Linked DNA regions of Homo sapiens: region 1 is linked to region 2. Evidence: promoter capture Hi-C in 16 types of primary human blood cells and fetal thymus (Javierre and others, 2016). All regions are on one chromosome and are shown on one strand. Each heading gives the region's core, a stretch centred on a gene start or on the middle of the fragment in contact. The rest is flanking DNA. Distances are from core to core; before and after follow the strand shown. Region 1 overlaps F11R (F11 receptor). Region 2 holds the start of SLAMF6 (SLAM family member 6).

Region 1 (4,186 bases), core at 1,580-4,079, 490 kb before region 2:
TCTGCTGTCAGGGAGGAAGTAGAAAAGGCAAGATAGGACTGACAAGTCAGGCAAAGGCCTGGCCCCAGCTTGGGGAACCTAATGGAGGGGAAACCCTGACCCTGTGGGGCAGAGATCCAGAGGGTAGACACTGGGAGAGCTGGACTTGGGAAAAGTAAAACTGATGACCCAGAGTACTAGCCTCCCTTTCCCTAGGGAACCTGTCCCTTAGAAAAGGTTCAGCTGTCTACCAGGTAGGGAGAGACACAGTAGAGGTGAGTGTGGATAGGTCAACTTACAGTGTAACCACAGGGGAGAGAGGGAAACCTGGGTTGGAATGCTGGCATTTGCTCCCCTGCCCTTCCTTGAGTGTGGTATCATCACTGAAGAGTTCCGCGTGGGCAGGGCAGAACTGCTGCCCTGCTTCTGGGTCATTCTCTGAGTCCCAGTGTTTACTATTGATGTTTCTGACTCAAGCCCTTCTAGCTTTGCCCTTTCAGGGGCAGGCATACCTCAAAACCGTAGACTGGTGTGAAGGTGTGGGTTGCCCCTCCACACCTGTGGGTGTTTCTCGTAAGGTGGAACGAGACTTGGAAAAGAAAAAGACACAGAGACAAACTATAGAGAAAGAAATAAGGAGACCCGGGGAACCAGCGTTCAGCACATGGAGGATCCCGCCAGCCTCTGAGTTCCCTTAGTATTTATTGATCATTCGTGGGTGTTTCTCTGAGAGGGGGATGTGTCAGGGTCACAAGACAATTGTGGGGAGAGGGTCAGTAGACAAACACGTGAACAAAGGTCTTTGCATCATAGACAAGGTAAAGAATCAAGTGCTGTGCTTTTAGATATGCATACACATAAACATCTCAATGCTTTACAAAGCAATATTGCTGCCCGCATGTCCCACCTCCAGCCTTAAGGCGGTTTTTCCCTATCTCAGTAGATGGAACGTACAATGTCTTGGTTTTATACCGAGACATTCCATTGCCCAGGGACGGGCAGGAGACAGATGCCTTTCTCTTGTCTCAACTGCAAGAGGCATGCCTTCCTCTTATACTAATCCTCCTCAGCACAGACCCTTTACAGGTGTTGGGCTGGGGGACAGTCAGGTCTTTCCCTTCCCACGAGGCCATATTTCAGACTATCACATGGGGAGAAACCTTGGACAATACCTGGCTTTCCTAGGCAGAGGTCCCTGCGGCCTTCCGCAGTGTTTTTGTCCCTGGGTACTTGAGATTAGGGAGTGGTGATGACTCTTAAGGAGCATGCTGCCTTCAAGCATTTGTTTAACAAAGCACATCTTGCACAACCCTTAATCCATTTAACCCTGAGTTTGACACAGCACATGTTTCAGAGAGCAAGGGGTTGGGGGTAAGGCCATAGATTAACAGCATCCCAAGGCAGAAGAATTTTTCTTAGTACAGAACAAAATGGAGTCTCCTATGTCTACTTCTTTCTACACAGACACAGTAACAATCTGATCTCTCTTGCTTTTCCCCACACTGGTGAGTCACTCCTCCTTTCCTCTCCCTCTACTCCCAGGAGTGAATTGTTCCCTCCAAACTAGAAACTGGTGACTGGCACTTCCTAGTTCTACCTGGAACTAGGAAACGAGTGGCAGTGGAATTTCAGTGTCCTTTAGTCTTTGCCTTCTGGCTCCAGATCACTTTTTTTTTTTTTGAGACGGAGTCTCATTCTGTTACCCAGGCTGGAATGCAGTAGCATGATCTTGGCTCACTGCAACCTCCACCTCCCGGCTTCAAGCGATTCTCCTGCCTTAGCCTCCCCAGCAGCTGGGACTACAGGCACGCGCCACCACGCCCGGCTAATTTTTTGTATTATTTATTTATTTATTTGTTTTTGAGACAGAGTCTCTCTCTGTCGCCAGGCTGGAGTACAGTGGCACGATCTCGGCTCACTGCAAACTCCACCTCCCGGGTTCATGCCATTCTCCTGCCTCAGCCTCCTGAGTAGCTGGGACTACAGGCGCCCGCCACCATGCCTGGCTAATTTTTTCTATTTTTAGTTGAGACGAGGTTTCACTGTGTTAGCCAGGATGGTCTTGATCTCCTGACCTCATGATCTGCCCGCCACGGCCTCCAAAAGTGCTGGGATTACAGGCGTGAGCCACCGCGCCCGGCCCCTAATTTTTTGTATTTTTAGTAGAGACGGGTTTTCACCATGTTGGCCAGGCTGGTCTCGAACTCCTGACTTCAAGTAATCCTCTTGCCTAGGCTTTCCAAAGTGCTGGGATTACAGGCGTGAACCCCTGCACCTGGCCACTCCAGACCACTTTTACCTCACCATGTTGCTCTTCAGTTCCTTTGTGATCATGTCTTGTGGAGTCTCCAGCCCAGTTCCGATTCAAGATAGAGCTACTGTGATTTTTTTTAAAAAAATTTAATTAGAATAGGTTAATTGACATGGTTTTATAATTAAAATGATATCAAAGGGGTGGGGTATCTCATTCCCATGTTGCTCCTGTTCACCCCAAACCCCAATAGTTTCTAATGTCTCTTCAGTGTTTCATTTTACAGATACAAGTATATATAAATAATACTTGTTTTTTCTCCCCTTTCTGACACAAAAAGAGGCATACTACATATATTCTACATCTTGCTTATATATATATATCATGGAGTTTTGTTGTTGTTGTTGTTGTTTTTGAAACAGGGTCTCACTCTGTTGCCCAGGCTGGAGTACAATGGCATGATCATAGCTCACTGCAGCCTTTTTTTTTTTTTTTGAGACAAAGTCTTGCTGTGTTGCCCAGGGAGGAGTCCAGTGGCGTGATCTTGTCTCACTGCAGACTCTGCCTCCCAGGTTCAAGTGATTCTCCTGCCTCAGCCTCCCGAGTAGCTGGGACACAAGCGTGCACCACCATTCTTGGCTAATTTTTGTGTGTGTGTATATATATATATATATATATTTTTTTTTTTGAGATGGAGTCTGGCTCTGTCACCCAGGCTGGAGTGCACTGGAGCAATCTCGGCTCACTGCAAGCTCCGCCTCGCGGGTTCACGCCATTCTCCTGCCTCAGCCTCCCGAGTAGCTGGGACTACAGGGGCCCGCCACCACTCCGGCTGATTTTTTGTATTTTTTTTAGTAGAGACGGGGTTTCACCGTGTTAGCCAGGATGGTCTCGATCTGCTGACCTCGTGATCTGCCTGCCTCGGCCTCCCAAAATGCTGGGATTACAGGCATGAGCCACTGTGCCCAGCCTTTTGTACATATTTTTTTAATTTAATTTTTTTTTTTTGAGATGGAGTCTTGCTCTGTTACCCAGGCTGGAGTGCAGTGGCGTGATCTCGGCTCACTGCAAGCTCTGCCTCCCGGGTTCACGCCATTCTCCTGCCTCAGCCTCCCAAGTAGCTGGGACTACAGGCACCCGCCACCATTCCCTGCTAATTTTTTTTTTTTTTTGTATTTTTAGTAGAGATGGGATTTCACCATGTTAGCCAGGATGGTCTTGATCTCCTGGCCTTGTGATCTGCCCCCATTGGCCTCCCAAAGTGCTGGGATTACAGGTGTGAGCTGCCCGGCTAATTTTTGTATTTTTAGTAGAGATAGGGTTTCACCATGTTGGCCAAGCTGGTCTTGAATTCCTGACTTCAAGTGATCCGCCTGCCTTGGCCTCCCAAAGTGCTGGGATTACAGGCATGAGCCACCGTGCCTGGCCTCACTGCAGCCTTGACCTCCTGGGTTCAAGCAATCCTCCAGTCTTAGCCTCCTGAATAGCTGAGGCTATAGGCAAGTGTGAGTGGTGAGCCATACCTGGCTAATTTTTTATTTTTTTAGTACAGACAGGGTCTCATCTGTTGTACAGGCTGGTCTTGAATTCTTGGCTTTAAGGGATCCTTTTGCCTTGGCCTTTCAAAATGCTGAATGACAGGTATGAGTCACTACACCTGGCCCATATTGGTTTCTAGGGATTGTGGCCTTGGCTGTTAGGATACATCCCACCCCCCTCCAAGTCAGCTGAGTTCAATTTGCACTTGTTCTGTGGACACATAAATGGGCAACACACGTTTCCACCACACCCAAAAATAGATTTAAATGCCATGCACATTTTATGTGATAATAATGAGACTTGTTTATCACATCTGTTAGGTTTGACTAGAGACCCTGGAGATCTCTAAACTCAAACCAGTTTCTGTTTCAGAGATTCAGGAAAGACCTGGATGACCTTGCGTCCAACATAATTGAG
Region 2 (3,683 bases), core at 696-3,195:
ACTTTCTTCACAGAATTAGAAAAAACTACTTTAAATTTCATACAGAACCAAAAACGAGCCCATATAGCCAAGACAATTGTAAGCCAAAAGAACAAAGCTGGAGGCAGCACGCTAACTGACTTCAAACTATACTACAAGGCTGCAGTAACCAAAACAGCATGGTACTGGTACCAAAACAGATATATAGACCAATGGAGCAGAACAGAGGCCTCAGAAATAACATCACACATCTACAACCATCTGATCTTTGACAAACCTAACAAAAACAAGCAATGGGGAAAGGATTCCCTATTTAATAAATGGTGTTGGGAAAACTGGCTAGCAATTATGCAGAAAACTGAAACTGGTTCCCTTCCTTATACCTTACACAAAAATTAACTCAAGATGGATTAAAGACTTAAATGTTAGACCTAAAACCACAAAAACCCCAGAAGAAAACCTAGGCAATACCATTCAGGACAAAGGCATGGGCAAAGACTTCAATACTAAAACATCAAAATCAATGGCAACAAAAGCCAAAATTGACAAATGGGACCTAATTAAACTAAAGAGCTTCTGCACAGCAAAAGAAACTATCATCAGAGTGAACAGGGAACCTACAGAATGGGAGAAAATTTTTGCAGTCTATCCATTTGACAAAAGGCTAATATCCAGAATCTACAAAGAACTCAAACAAATTTACAAGAAAAAAAAAAAAACCCCAACAAAAAGTGGGCAAAGGATATGAAGACACTTCTCAAAAGAAGACATTTATGCGGCCAAGAAACATATGAAAAAAGCTCATCATCACTGGTCATTAGAGAAATGCAAATCAAAACTACAATGAGATACCATCTCATGCCAGTTAGAATGGCAATCATTAAAAAATCAGGAAACAACAGATGCTGGAGAGGATGTAGAGAAATGGGAATGTTTTCACACTGTTGGTGGGAGTGTAAACTAGTTCAACCATTGTGGAATACAGTGTGGCGATTCCTCAAGGATCTAGAACTAGAAATACCATTTGACCCAGCAATCCCATTACTGGTTATATACCCAAAGGATTATAAATCATGCTGCTATAAAGACACATGCACACTTATGTTTATTGCAGCACTGTTCACAATAGCAAAGACTTGGAACCAACCCAAATGCCCATCAATGATACACTGGATAAAGAAAATGTGGCATATATATACCATGGAATACCATGCAGCCATAAAAAAGGATGAGTTCATGTCCTTTGCAGGGACATGGATGAAGCTGGAAACCATCATTCTCAGCAAACTAACACAAGAACAGAAAGCCAAACAACGCATGTTCTCACTCATAGGTGGGAACTGAACAATGAGAACACATGGACACAGGTAGGGGAACATCATACACTGGGGTATGTCACGGGGTGGGGGGCAAGGGGAGGGATAGCATTAGGAGAAATATCTAATGTAGATGACAAGTTAATAGGTGCAGCACACCAACATGGCATATGTATACATATGTAACAAACCTGCACATTGTGCACATGTACCCTAGAACTTAAAGTATAATTTTAAAAAATCAGTTTTCTTTTGGCTTTTTCTTAGCTTTATACTTAAATATTTTTTTCTAATGTAATTAGAGTGGAATTGTTTTTTGAATTTTATTTTTGGATTACTCATAGCTAGTATATACAATTGCAATTGAATTTTATATTTTGATTTTGTATCTTTTCACCTTGCTGAACTCATTTATTTGTTCTAGTAGATTTTAGGAAATTCCTTACAGACTTTTACATATAAGTTTATGAAAGATGCAATAAAGGACTTTATCTTCTTTTCCAAAAAAAAAAAAAATTTGTGCACTTAGCTCAGAAAAAAGTAAACAAAAAATTAACACAGTTACAAATTAGGATTTTTAGTGCAGGGGAAGAAGTTGTCACCACGCCTCTAAGAGGAAGGGGAAGTCTCAGAAGTATTTTCAGTTTATGACAGAAGGGCAAAAACATTGACTGCCTCAAGGTCTCAAGCACCAGTCTTCACCGCGGAAAGCATGTTGTGGCTGTTCCAATCGCTCCTGTTTGTCTTCTGCTTTGGCCCAGGTAAATGTCAATCCAGATCGGTGTAGTCACTGAGTGACTCCCTGGTTTTGTGCAGCTTGCTCAACCTAAATCGTCTGTATACAGTTGTCTGGCTCTCTGCCAAGGGATTGGGGCGGGAAAGGGGACGCTGGCAGTGTTACCTGATATACTACTACCTCCTCTCAACTTTGGATGCGATAAGCCTGAGATGGTTGTCGGTGAACAATTTCAATTGTGTCTGCATGTAAGAAAGTTATTTGCTGGGGCAGAGGAAATAAGCTTTTGAAGACAAGACTGTTTGTGGTTTATGACCAGCATCTTGTGTTATAAAGAGTACCAAGACCAAGAAAATGGGCCCTCATACCAATGTATCTACTATCGTACTGTGAACCTCAGGGAGGTTACTTATCCTTCCTGAACCTCACTATCCTCATCTAAATTATTAAAAACCTATTATTCAGTTGAGCCAAATTTTCTGGGCCCAACCAAACACACCAAAAATAACCCTCTCACCTTTTGCTCATTGCAAAAAAAAAGGTTTCCATCTCTCCCCTCCTTTAGTGCAAATTAGGGCTAGCTAGTCCAGCAATGCATTATATATGGCAGTGAGAAAAGAATGAACTGATCCAGCTGGCTTCTTGTTTCCTGCTGTCCATTATATGGAGAAGATGAAGATTCATATCACATTTGGGGAACTACAAGTGGTCCACGGGAGACAAAGTGTAGCATTCAGGCAGAGATAGTCCAGGAGACCAATGGAAATCTAGTCCAGAGCTAGCCCAGGGTAGCAGATAAAAGTAGGAAGCATTCACTGAGCACTTATTGTATTTCAAGTATTGTGCCAGGTGCTGTACACACGTTATGAGTCTCATGAGAATTCTATGAATTTATACTATTAATATCTCCATTTTAAAATGAAGAACTGAGGTGAACTTAATTTAAATAATTTGCCCAAATTTCATTAGCCAGCATGCGACAAGCTCTTGTAATAGTTATGAGAAAAAATAACAGTTCAACAAGTGTGGCAGCAGCATAAGAGAAAGAAGAGACTGAAGCAAGAGATCCCATCAATATGGAGTTAAGTAGAGTAATTGGTAATTGGAATGAGAAAGGAATAAATATTCATTGAGCACCTACTGAATGCTTGGCACTCTTCTAGTTTGCATGAATACATCATGAACAAAGCAAGCAAAAATTCCTGCCCTCATGGAGTTAACATTTTAGCAGGAGACAAACTGTAAAAAAAGATAAACAAGTAAAATAGTGTATTGGGTAGGAAGAAATAAATCAAGAAGGAAAGGGAGAGATGAAATATGGTAAAGACGGCAGTGAAATTTCAGACAGGATAGCCAAAGAAAGTGACAAAATTGGAAGGTGGAGAGCAGCCACAGGAGGAAGGTGAGTTCAATTTTGGACCTACTGATTTTAGGATGTCAGTGTGCTATACATGAGGAAGTTACGTGGAGGATCCTGGGAACTTAGGACTAGGGGTAGAGCTGAGGCTAGAGACTTAAAAATCAATGGCATAGAGATATGTTAAGCTGAGGAGAAAACTGGAATGAGAACAGAACTTTGGGAAATATATATAAAATGCAGAAAGAGAGAGAATTCTTTCCTTCATTCAAGAGCCACTTCCTGATCTAGGAGC

What was found. The method cuts DNA at HindIII sites, captures the fragments that hold promoters and counts their contacts. A CHiCAGO score of 5 or more calls a contact.
Region 1: a fragment that was not itself captured here is called in contact with the fragment with the promoter of SLAMF6 in region 2 in 2 of 17 cell types (activated CD4 T cells and non-activated CD4 T cells); the score reaches 5.4 in activated CD4 T cells.

What each region holds. Positions count from the first base shown.
Region 1 is chr1:161,014,130-161,018,315 of GRCh38, reverse strand. The region is part of intron 1 of F11R (F11 receptor); the gene reads left to right. Among named protein-coding and RNA genes, the nearest start is that of F11R, 4.9 kb to the left of the region's middle. RefSeq lists enhancers at 1,814-2,411, 4,053-4,186. The HindIII fragment of the contact is 7,117 bases long and covers 1-4,186 here.
Region 2 is chr1:160,521,517-160,525,199 of GRCh38, reverse strand. It overlaps SLAMF6 (SLAM family member 6), which reads left to right and starts at 1,945. Exons shown (of 8, transcript NM_001184714.2): 1 at 1,945-2,056. The coding sequence starts at 2,008. RefSeq lists an enhancer at 2,111-2,160. The HindIII fragment of the contact is 3,138 bases long and covers 1-2,316 here.